2 separate regions of the Homo sapiens genome follow, and region 1 is linked to region 2. The links are contacts of gene promoters, found by promoter capture Hi-C in blood cells and fetal thymus (Javierre and others, 2016). All regions are on one chromosome and are shown on one strand. The core of a region is centred on a gene start or on the middle of the fragment in contact, and the rest is flanking DNA. Distances in the headings are between cores, read along the strand shown.

The links. Contacts are between HindIII fragments. The CHiCAGO score rates a contact against its expected background, and 5 or more counts as called.
Region 1: a fragment that was not itself captured here is called in contact with the fragment with the promoter of CALHM6 in region 2 in 13 of 17 cell types (neutrophils, total B cells, naive B cells and 10 more); the score reaches 21.8 in neutrophils.

Annotation. Positions count from the first base shown.
Region 1 is chr6:116,330,991-116,337,738 of GRCh38, forward strand. It overlaps a transcript of DSE not described here. Among named protein-coding and RNA genes, the nearest start is that of DSE, 37 kb to the right of the region's middle. The HindIII fragment of the contact is 3,663 bases long and covers 1-3,278 here.
Region 2 is chr6:116,456,465-116,462,624 of GRCh38, forward strand. CALHM6 (calcium homeostasis modulator family member 6) reads left to right here and starts at 4,911. Exons shown (of 3, transcript NM_001010919.3): 1 at 4,911-4,965; 2 at 5,408-5,990. The coding sequence starts at 5,466. CALHM6-AS1 (CALHM6 antisense RNA 1) reads right to left here. Exons shown (of 2, transcript NR_174951.1): 2 at 4,014-4,730. It also overlaps the pseudogene KRT18P22. RefSeq lists enhancers at 5,317-5,426, 5,437-5,516 and a silencer at 5,897-5,976. The HindIII fragment of the contact is 9,761 bases long and covers 1-6,160 here.

The sequences.
Region 1 (6,748 bases), core at 197-2,696, 130 kb before region 2:
TTATGACATTAACAGAATAAAGGAAAAAATTATATGATAATTGTACTAGATGCAGAAAAGCAGTTGGTTAAAGTAAGCATCTATTTATGATTAAAATACATCTTTGGGCAAACGAAGAATAGAAGAGAGCTTCTTTAATCAAATACAGGGTATCTACAAAACACCAATAATAAACACCATAGAAATACTGAAAACTTTCTTTCTGTGATCAGGAATAAGATAATAGTTGTATTAGTTCATTCTCTTGCTGCTATGATGAAATACCCAAGACTGGGTAATTTATAAAGGAAAGAGATTTAATTGACTCACAGTTCTGCAGGGCTGGGGAGGCCTCATGAAACTTACAATCATGGTGGAAGAGAAAGCAAACACATCCTTCTTCACATGGTGACAGCAAGGAGAAGTGCACTGCGAAGTGGGGAAAAGCCCCTTATAAAACCATCAGATCTCATGAGAAGTCACTCACTATCATGAGAACAGCATGGGGGAAATGCCCCTATGATCTAATCACCTCCCACGAGGTAACCCCCCAATATATGGGGATTACAATTCGGATTACAATTCAAGATGAGGTTCTGGGCGGGGACAGAGCCAAACCATATCAATAGTTACCAACATTTCTAGGCTACCTGCCACTGAAAGTCCTAATTAGTGTGGTAAGGAAGAAGAATTGAAAAGAACAAGTAGGCCGGGCACAGTGGCTCACGCCTGTAGTCCCAGCACTTTGGGAGGCAGAGGCAAGCAGATCACGAAGTCAGGGAATCGAGACCATCATGGCCAACATGGTGAAACCCTGTCTCTACTAAAAATACAAAAATTAGCTGGGCATGGTGGCACGCACCTGTAGTCCCACCTACTTGGGAGGCTGAGGCAGTAGAATTGTTTGAACCCGAGAGGCGGAGGTTGCAGTGGGCCAAGATGGTATCACTGCACTCCAGCCTGGCAACAGAGTGAGACTCCATCTAAAAGAAAAAGAACAAGTAAAACTGCCATTATTTGCTAAGACTATATATATAAAAAAACTCAAAGACTCTACAGATAGTTCTTAGAATTGAGTTTAATAAAATTGTATCCCAGCAACCTTGTTAAACTCAATTCTAATCTCGACTTGTAGATTTTAAAAATTTCATTTCTATGATGAGCAACAACAGAAAATAAAACTGAAAATAATCATAATAGGATCAAAAATATTTAAAACCTAAAAATAAATATTTTAGCAGTTGTAAAAGAAACATAAAACATTCCCAAGAGACATTAAAAAAGACAAATCAATGAATACTTGTACTACATTTATATATTGGAAGACTCAGCATTTTTAAAATGTTAATTTTCCTGAAACTGAGCTTTAGATCCAAAGAAATTCAAATCAAAATCCCAGTTGGTTTGTGTGTGTGTGTGTGTGTAAGAGAGACACAGGGAGAAAAGGAGTTTGAAACTCAATTCTTTAAAATATGAAAAAAAAATTAAGAGAAACAGGTATAGACAAGACACTCTTGAATAGGAGGGAAAAGGTAAGAGGAGTTGCTCTACTGGATATTAATACTTATGTCTGTGATAATTAGGATAGTACAGTATTGGGGTAAGAATAGACAAAAATCAGTGGAACAAATTGGAGTTTAGAAAAAAGACACATTTGAAATAAATTAAGTGTTTATATATTAAGCAGGACACACACAAAAAAGTACTTACAGTAAAGGAAAAGACTGATACTTAGAGTTAAAATTAAGAGCCTCAGTTTATGAAAAGACACCTTTAATTGGTAAAAAGTCAAGCTACATGGTAAAATATATTACATATGCAAGTCTTGTGCCTGGTATAAAGTACATCTACAAAGTAAATCAATATATAAAAAAATCCAATGAAAAATGGACAAAAAGACTTCAGGCATTTCACAAAAATAGATACCCCAATTGCCAGCAAGTATAAGAAAAGGTCTTTGATTTCTTTAGTAATCAGGAAAATGCAAATTAAAACCACAGTTATATACCATCAGACTTCCTTTAGAATAGCTAAACTTAAGAATCCTGATAATCTCAACTGTGGGAGAAAATATAGAGCACTAGGAATTCTTATTCACTGCTAATGTGAAAATTGGTAAATGTACTTCCTCAGGATAAAATTTTCAATGAAAACGGAATAGAATTTACATATATTCACATAAATTCATGCATCCCAGTGGAAAGCACTGACCTATTTTTTGTCTTGTCTTAGTCCATTTTCTGCTGCATAACAGAGTACCATAGACTTGGTGATTTATAAAGAAAAGAGATTTATTTGGCTCATGGTTCTGGAGGCTGGGAAGTCCAAGGTTGAGGGACCATATTTGGTGAGGGCATTCTTGTTGTATCATAACATGATGGAAGGCATCACATAGTGAGACAATGTGAGAGAGAGTGAGAGCATGAAACAGAGAAAAAGAGGGCCAAACTCCTGAGATAACTCACTTCTGTGATAATGACAATCCATGAAGAAAGTGCCCCCATGACTTAATCACTTTGTAAACTCCCCATCTCCCAATACCGTTACATTGGCAATTAATTTTCAACATGAGTTTTAGAGGGGATTTTCAAACCATAGCATGTCTCAACTGATCTTTATGGTATGTACATATCTACTTTACAGATGAGAAAAGTGAGGCTTCAGAAAGAGAAAGATTTTTAATAAATCCATGAATCTACTAAGTGGAAGAGCCACCATCTAAACAAGCTCTTTCTCATTCTCAACCACATATTCTTTCACCATGTTTATAAAAGCATCCTTTAAAAATATATCCTGTTTTTCCTTATACATTTATAAATTTCTCTTTAAATTTAAAAATATCACTTTAATTACATTACTTGATGCCTTTTGCTCCCTACTCAGAGGTAAGACAATGCAGTTTACAAAATATTGCAATTCTTGAGTCCAGGAGATCGAGGCTGCAGTGAGCCATGAATGCACCACTCCACTCCGGCCTGGGTGACAGAGCAAGAACCCCTCTCAAAAACAACCCTCCAAAATATTGCAATATGTGAAAGAAGTTTGACTCTTTGCTATACTGATCTCTCTCCTAGATGCTTTATTTTAATGTATTGTACTTAGTGAACATTGTCGTACTAATCTATTTACACATTTGTTTCCCACCATTAGATTATAATATTCTTGAGGACAAGTTCTTATCTTTGTGTCTCTGTATCTTCAGCATATCACACAATTGTCTGTTGAATGACTAGATGAGATTTTATTCTCAAGGCTTTGACTCAGAGTAGGCAAGTCCCCATTTCAACCCTTTTAAAGAAAGCTTGAAATCACTCTGCTACCTTCTAGCAGAGTTAAGGTCAAATCATATTCTGAAAGATAAAGGATTCTACCTTATTTTTCCATTTGAAGTGATTCCCAAATAATTCTACTCCCTGTTGGTCTCTTAATTCACGCAAAGCCCACATTTCACAAACTATATCCAGAGAATTAGGCTCTCTTTGCCAAAAATACTGTATTCGAAAATTTTCTCCCATTCTGTAGGTTGTCTGCTCACTCTTAATAGTTTCCTTGCTAGATCCCATTTGTTATTTATTTTTTTTGCCTTCATTGCAATTGCTTTTGGCATCTTCATCATGAAATCTTTGCCCATTCCTACGTCCAGAATGGTATTGCCTAGGTTATCTTCCAGAGTTTTTATAGCTTTGAGTTTTCCATTTAAGTCTTTACTCCATCTTGAGGAACTTAAACAAATTTACAAGAAAAAAGAAACCATTAAAAAGTTGGCAAAGGATATGAACAGACTTTTCAAAAGACATGAGTGCAGCCAACAATGATGAAAAAAAGCCCAACATCAATGATCATTACAGAAATGCAAATCAAAACCACAGGAAATACCATCTCACACCAGTCAGAATGGCTATTAAAAAGTCAAAATATAACAGATGCTGACAAAGTTGCAAAGAAGGAACCTCCCACTGTTGGTGGAAGTGTAAATTAGTTCAACCATTGTGGAAGACAGTGTGGCAATTCCTCAAAGACCTAAAGACAGAAATACCATTGGCCTCATTACTGTATATATACTCAAAGGAATGTAAATCACTCTGTTACAAAGACACATGCACATGTATGTTCATTGCAGCACTATTCACAATAGCAAAGACATGGAATCAACCTAAATGCCCATCAGTGATAGATTTGATAAAGAAAATGTGGTATATATACAACATGGAATACTATGCAGCCATAAAAAGGGACAAGATCATGTCCTTTGCAGGGACATGGATGGAGCTAGAGGCCATTATCCTTATCAAACTAACACAGAAAGAGAAAGCTAAATACCACATGTTCTCACTTGTAAGTGGGAGCTAAATGATGAAACCATATAGACACAAAGAGGGGAACAACACACACTGGAGTCTATGCAAGGGTGGAGGGTGGGAAGAGAGAGAGTGTTAGGAAAAATAACTCATGAGTACTAGGCTTAATACCTGGGTGACAAAAAAATCTGTACAACAAACCCCCATGACATGTTTACCTATGTAACAAAACTGTACTTGTACCCCTAAACTTAAAAGTTAAATTTTAAAAAAAGATATTTTCTTCTCCTTTGTTTGATTGTACTGTTAAAGACAAAATACAACAAATTTAGTTTGAAGATCTAATTGGCTTTTATTTGTGATTCTAGAATCAGGCAACACTTCATTCTATGAAACAGAAGTAGTGATCCACTGGATATGATAGAATGGTTGGTTTTTGTAAGGTGGGAATAAGACAACAGAACGATAAATAAAAGTGCATTGATAGCATAAGTTACTACAAGTCACTTTTCTTGTAAGAGTTAAAACAGAGAAGACCTCTTTATTATGCTGACTTAGGAAGATTGAGCTCTTTGACTAGTTGCTGTGAATCTCCTGTTTTCAGGAAAAACTGCTCTGTTTGGGGCTCTATCAGCTTCCTTAAAGTTCAGTTTGATTATGAGGCACTTTGCATGAGTGACACTATTTTGGTCTGGTCTGGTCTGTGGGAGTCTGGTGCAGAAGGCTGGTCCAAAACAATGGATTCCCATAAACTGTAACAGCACTTAGTCATAAACATCTCTTTCAGAATTATGTTCAGCATGTGAATGTCCCTGATGTCCATTTGTAGTCAGATATCAACTCCTTTGGAATCCAGGAAGAATTTTATTTTGACTACATTTAATGTAAATCTGTTTTACAGAAGAATTTAAAATATATATCTTGCAGTATATGAACAGAAGATACACTCCTATTGAAAAAGTTCTTGATGACATAGACAGAATCTAAATAGTTATCTAGCATTTAGTCTGCAAGCCTACAGAATGCTAGATAATGTGATACAGTTAATTTTAGCCAAAGTCTTGCTCATCTGAATGTAACAGTTATAATTTGTAAGAGTTGTGTTAAAGATAAGGCAGTATTATTTAAAAATTAGTACTATAATGCCACCTACCTGAGTGATACATGGTCTAATGTATTTGCTTGCATGTTTTAAAGAAAAAAGTAGGCCGGGCGCAGTGGCTCACGCCTGTAATCCCAGCACTTTGGGAGGCCGAGGCAGGCGGATCAGCCAAGGTTGGGAGTTCAAGACCAGCCTGACCAACATGCAGAAAACCCGTCTCTACTGAAAATACAAAATTAGCCAGGCATGGTAGCGCATGCTTGTAGTCCCAGCTACTCGGGAGGCTGAGGCAGGAGAATTGCTTGAACCTGGGAGGCGGAGGTTGCAATGAGCTGAGATCATGCCATTGCACTCCAGCCTGGGCAACAAGAGCAAAACTCCATCTCAAAAAAAAAAAAAAAAGGTAACATCAAATTCTATTAGTACAATTATATTGTGCTCAAAATATCTGACTATGTATTTTAGGCTAGGTTCATAGTCTTTGTAGCAAAAAATATTAATCTTACTAAATTCAGCTTTCAAGAATCATTAAATAATAATTTTATTGTCAGCACTATATGTAAGGCTACATTTCATGACTATAGATTCAAAGCAACAAAACAGCATGACTATAATGAGAATAGTTAATCATAGTGATTTATTAATAATGCCAGTGTTTACATTTTATCTCTTTTAATGCAATAATCCCATGAGCTGTAAGTACATTTTACTATCATTATCCCTATTTTACACATAAGAAACACAAAGCACAAAGAGTATTGAATATTAGCTGAATATCACATAGCTGATAAGTGGTAGAGCTCGTATATAGAGCTGACTCCAGAACCCTGGCTCCTCACTGCCATACTACAGTACCTCATATATATGAGGAAAATATATATAAGAAAAGTTGCTTTGTGTGAGATTTGCTTTAGCTAACTTTTACTACAGTATCATTATTTGTCATTTAAAATTAGAAATAGCTGGGCATGGTGGCTCATGCCTATAATCCCAGCACTTTGGGAGGCCGAGGCAGGTGGATCACGAGGTCAGGATTTCGAGACCAGCCTGACCAACATGGTGAAACACCGTCTCTACTAAAACTACAAAAATTAGCCGGGTGTGGTGGTGGATGCCTGTAATCCCAGCTACTCAGAAGGCTGTGGCAGGAGAGTTGCTTTTTAATCCAGGAGGCAGAGTTTGCAGTGAGCCGAGATCACACCATTGCACTCCAGCCTGGGTGACAGAGCAAGACTCCATCTCAAAAAATAAATAAATGAATAAATAAAATAAAACTAGAAACACTCTAATTGCGGCATTAATCCAGATAAATTGAAAAACATTGATATTACTGATGATTACAAAGAGTCTTGAGGTCAAATAAAAGATT
Region 2 (6,160 bases), core at 3,661-6,160:
ATAACTATCTGCTGCAAGAACAAAAATTAGTGTGTTAATCAATAAGTACTTAAACTTTTGTGATAGGCTTAGGAAATTCACACTAAGAGAGGAATAAAAATCTTTAAAAGGCTTTTTTGAAATGTCATGGGATTGCCATTTAACAAATGACATCTCTGTGCCAAGGAAAGGGTCTGATCTTTCCCTCCTTCTGCTTTACACTTCCATTGGAAAAAACTTTTATAAACGTTTAAAATATCTGAAGACAACAGCATGTTCCAGATTTTCAAATATGTTATCTAACATGAGCAATATATCCACAAATTTTAACATTCAGAAAGATATTCCCTTTAAGACTAGGAGTGTCAGATTTTGTAAACTAACTTTTTAATTTGGCATCTGGCATTTCTTCTTGCATATGTTACCTAAGATATTTGAATATTAATTTGATTTTACTCTTTTTGGAGGGTCTTGGGGCCAAGATTAATGTTGTATAAGAATCCAGCAGTCATATTCCAAGCAGGGTCATGCCATTAGTCTGTATTCTTATGAGAGCCGCAGAGAACAATGTTTGAGAACTAGCACACATGAAGACAATTGCAAGACACTTTCAGATTCACAGTGTGTATGTGCATTTCCTTTCAAGAAGTTCCTTTTCCAAGAAATGTTCTGTGGTTTCTGAAACCCATTCCTGACATTGAAAATGATAGTGCTGAAAAAGTACTACAGTTAAAGGAAACCAAAGGGAACCCATAACCATTGGCTTTACACTGTGCTTAATGTGAGACTCTACTACTCATTTCTTTTTATTTTTTATTTTTGACCTCTGAACTTTTTATTGGCCTCCTGCTCCTCGAAGGGTCCCCTACTTCTGCTGGCTTAATGTCTCAGAACTTTGGTGTCATTGGTCTCAGACACCACTTCGCCATCCACTATTGGGCGGGTGGTGTCTTTTGGATGGTTTGCATGGAGTTGCTGTTGTCCAGGGCATCACCAAGATTGAAGTCCTCGCCATCTTCCAGCAGGCATTGGTAGGTGGCAATCTGAGTCTCCAGCTTGACTTTGATGTCCAGCAGGGCCTCGTACTGCTGGGCCTAGTGCTGTCCCTCTGCCTGGGTCTGTGCCAGCTCTGACTCCAGGTGCAGCAGGATCCCATTGAGCTGTTCCATCTGCAGGGCATAGCAGGCCTCCACCTCCCTCAGGCTGCTTTCCAAGCGGCCTTCAGATTTCTCATGGAGTCCAGGTCGATCTCCAAGGAATGGATTGTACATCTCAGCTCTGTGAGCGTCATCTCAGCAGCTCCAACCTCGGTGGACTGAGTGGTGGCCACTGTGGTGCTCACCTCAATCTGCTGAGACCAGTACTTGTCCAGCTCCTCTTAGTTCTTCCGAGCCAGCTCGTCATATTGGGCCCAGATGTCTTCCATGATCTTGGCAAGGTCCTGAGATTTGGGGGCATCTACCTCCACGGTCAGCCCAGAGCTGGCAGTCTGGGCTTGTAGGCCTTTACTTCCTCTTCATGGTTCTTCATGAAGAGCAGCTGCTTTTTGAGAGCCTCGATCTCTGTCTCCAGCTGCAGCCGAGTGACATTGGTGTCATCAATGACCTTGTGGACCCCATGGATGTCGCTCTCCACAGACTGGCACATGGGCAGCTCTGTCTCATACTTGACACTGAAGTCATCAGCAGCAAAACAGGCATTGATTTGCAGAACGATGCGGGCATTGTCCACAGTATTTGTGAAGATCTGAGCCCTCAGGTCCTGATGGTCATGAAGTAATGGCTCCAGTCTCTGGCCTGGGGTCCCTTCTTCCCCAGGTGCTCCCGGATTTTGCTCTCCAGCTTCCAGTTCTCGGTCTCCAGGCTCCTCACTCTGTCCAGGTAGGAGGCCAGACAGTCGTTCAGGCTTTGCATGGTCTCCTTCTCATTCTGGATGCCTGCTATCCCTGCCAGACCCCTGGCCATCCCTGCAGCCAGGCCCCCGGATCCCATGCCGCCCCAGAAGCTGGTGGAGCGGGACACAGAGATCCGGGAACCAGAGTCCTGGGTGCCTGCATAGACACTGGCTGCACTGCTGACCAGCTGGGCGATGAAGCTGGGTGTCTGGACAGAGCCCAGGGAATGGTAGTTGGTGGAGAAGGTGGAGCAAGTGGTGAAGCTCATACTGTCCAGGGAGGAGAGCAAGAGGACAGGACTCAGGCTTTACCGATGACATTCTACTACTCATTTCTTAACAGCTGAAGCAAATCACAGGCTTTCAAAAGTGTAAAGACATTTAAAATATTATTTAGTCTACCTCTCCACACCATTAGGGTGTTAGTCAATTTCCACTAAGGGCTGAACTTCTGAGCAATATCCTCTCAGAACAGACCTGGGTATGGAGGGCTGGGAATCTTCAATAGACCCAGAGCTAGAACCAGTCAATCCAGTGGTGGTGGGAGTGGATGGCAGGGTACTAGACTCAAGACCAAGTGCTGGGGAAACATTCAGGCTGGCAGGCAAAACCTGGACTCTCAATTATAGAAACCTGTACTAAGTTCTGAATGATCATTGCATCTGGGAGAGTTGGGTTTGGGAGAGCACAGAAGTAGCAAACCCAGGAGGTGGTGTTTAGAGACACAAGCTGACAAGACAATATGTCAGGATGCAGCTCAGTCTGTGAAAGTTTCAGAGGCAGAATTGCAGACTACATATTCTGGTCTGTGAAGCACCTAAACCTGACCTTCCACTTGCAGCTTTGGCCTCATGATGTGCCAACTTGCCTGTCATTCTCAATGCTCCCATCACTCTAGCCTTCTTTCTAACCAAGCTCCTTTGTACTCCAGACTCATTCAGATTAAATGTCAGTTTCTCACAGAGGCTCTTTCAGGACACTCTCTAACTCCAATTTATCCTGTGCGTAATCTTTAGGACCCCTCCTCTCCATTTCCTATATCATCTCTACTGTAAGTTCAAAGACGGCAGGATACCTGTGTCTTCTTCCTTGTTGTATCCAGCAATACCAGGCACTTTTGATAGGTACTTGACATATTCTGAGTACTTATTAAACATTTAAATGAATGACTGAATGAACAAATGAACTAATTAATAACTGGTTAACAAATGAATTAATCTAGTTGGGGAAGGGGGCTGATAGATAAAAGTTTCTGTAAGTAAACATATTTCAAACAAATCCTTGACTAAATAACAGAAGCCAGGGAAGAGAAGGTGATGGACTTCATTAGAGTCTTAAAAAATGAAGGGAATGAAAACAGACCATAGGAATGAGGTGAAGGAGGAGATGGTGCTGATTAGATTGAGCCTCAGTGGATGATAAACTATTATAGCACAGTGGTAAAACCCTGGTATGGCTATCAGCAGGTAACCAGGAAAATGCCAGCCATCCCTCTTGGTTTGAGAGATGTGGGAGAATAAATTAATCTCACTCAAGAAGACAGAAGGATGCATTTTTATTAGGTTTCGGTTAGGGGAGATTTGGATAAAGCCATCTGCACAAAGGTTGTGGATATAGTGATGTTTCTGCATGATGGAATATGGGAAAGGGTGGACGAGAGAGGACACATCTTAGAGTATTATGGTAGAGGTGAAGAAGAGTCCAGCAGTAAGAGGAGAGTTACTCAAGGCACAGGGGAAGAAATTTATCTTGGGAGATGACAAATTACAAAGATAACAGTCAGAGCAGAAGTGATTCGCTTCAAACACGCAACTTTGCTGCAAGTTGACAGGAAGCCTAGCAGTATCTGGTCTAATCTCAGAGAAGAGGGCCCCAACTTTCCTGCATGACCATGAAGACCCTCATCTGGGGCTGGCCCCTAAACACATAGAAAAAAGATGTCTATTTACCACATCACTATGGAATGACAGCTTTTGGCACTACGCTAGGCACCCTGCTGGTGGTGTTGGAGAGGGAGTAGTTAAGAAGGCAAGTTGGACTAAGAAAAGAATAATACATTTCTTGTCCATTCTCTAAAAATTCACTTGGTTCCATGGGCTACCTATTCTTTCCAGATAAAATAAGGCAAGCCTGGTGGATGGGCACCAATAAGAACCATTTCATTGTGAACTGCCCACCCAAGCTCCATATCCAGATACTCTCCTTGTGGTGAAGCAGACAGCTAAGGTGTACACCAATTCTCTTAAGGTAGCAGAGTCATTGAGTCACTTAATACTATCCACTGAATTGATCCTCGTTTAAAATTCAAAATTCAGTATTCATCAAGATTCTTAGGTTATGTACAATGTAATTATTTGTTGTCTATTCCCCAAATTGCATTTTAAGGGGAAAACTCTCACACTGATCATTCATTTAACAGACATATCCTATATGTAAAGGCACTTTACATATGCTACTCAATCTACTCATGTCAGTAATCTTGAAAAGTGGGCACTATTATCCTTCTTTTACAAATAAGGATGCTGTGTCTCAGAGGGGCATACTTGTTAAACACACCACAGACAAGATGCACTTGACTTCAAAGCCCATGTTCTTTCAAGCACACCTCAGCTCAGTCTGGAGTCACACAGAGTAAGGCTCAATATCACAAAAGTGGTTACAGTGTTTGTGTCAGAACAACGCTGCTTGAGAAAACTGAAGGTGGAGGAAACAACATTAGATAGATGTAGCTGCAGTTTGAAATTTTGGGTTCAACTAGCATTCTTTGAATAATCATGTATCCCCTTCTGTGCAGATCAGCTTGGTGGTCAGAGTCAGAATTTTACTCTCCTCCAGGCATTGACAGTGTTATGACATATCTGAAAGAAAAGAACATTGTATTGACGAGTAAATCAATACAGTATATTTGGTCTAATGTCCTGAAGGAGATCAGGCAGAGGAGAGAAGAGTCAGTGTGAACTAGGCTGGTGGCTCTGTCCGGTAGGGAGATGGAAAGGGTGCCGCCCATCATAGAAGTACCAGAACTTGAGCTGGACTTTGCTGATTTAGCTTATGGAAGAGGAACCAGAAATTTGTCCTTGAATAATGTTTCCCGTAAGTAATCAGTTTTTTGATAATTATTTGGTTTTACTGTGATCTGGCTTAGTAACTAGGGTGGCTGCAATAGAGGAAAATCTGGTATTTCCCAGTTTTTCCAACTGGCGGCCGTGGGTCAAGAAGGTTAGTTTCCTGGTTCGTTGTCAGATTGGTGGTAATAAAGGAACAAGGTCAACCTTCTGTCAGAGTTCCTGAATTGGGGGAGGAAGATAACTGGTGCCTCTGCCTTTGGAATGGGGTGGGTGCCAGAGAAGTCAAGGTCCTGGGGGTGTTTGCTTGCCTGGTTCTGTTAACCAGAGGTGGTGTGGCTGAAATGAGAAAGTGAAACTTTAGGAAGGTCTGAGAAGCCCTCTTCCCTTTAAAAAAAAAAAAAAAAAGGCTGCTTCTCGCAGAGTGGAAAGCCCCGGTCCCCATCCCACCAAAACCATTTGACAAGCAGGACAACGAAGAGGCAGAAGGATCTGGGCCTGTGCGCGACGCCCCGGGGGACGAGGCTCATGGAGAAGTTTCGGGCGGTGCTGGACCTGCACGTCAAGCACCACAGCGCCTTGGGCTACGGCCTGGTGACCCTGCTGACGGCGGGCGGGGAGCGCATCTTCTCCGCCGTGGCATTCCAGTGCCCGTGCAGCGCCGCCTGGAACCTGCCCTACGGCCTGGTCTTCTTGCTGGTGCCGGCGCTCGCGCTCTTCCTCCTGGGCTACGTGCTGAGCGCACGCACGTGGCGCCTGCTCACCGGATGCTGCTCCAGCGCCCGCGCGAGTTGCGGATCGGCGCTGCGCGGCTCCCTGGTGTGCACGCAAATCAGCGCGGCCGCCGCGCTCGCGCCCCTCACCTGGGTGGCCGTGGCGCTGCTCGGGGGCGCCTTTTACGAGTGCGCGGCCACCGGGAGCGCGGCCTTCGCGCAGCGCCTGTGCCTCGGCCGCAACCGCAGCTGCGCCGCGGAGCTGCCGCTGGTGCCGTGCAACCAGGCCAAGGCGTCGGACGTGCAGGACCTCCTGAAGGATCTGAAGGCTCAGTCGCAGGTCTGCCGCTGGCGCTGGGGGCGTTTGGGAGGAGCCGAGAGGCCGAGCTTTCTCAGGGCCGCTGGGGTGAGGGAAAAATCGGTGACTTTTCTCCAGATATACAGTACCCTAAGAAAATCTAGAATGGCTCCTTGCATCTAATTTGCCGTCAAGAGAATATCTGAATAAAA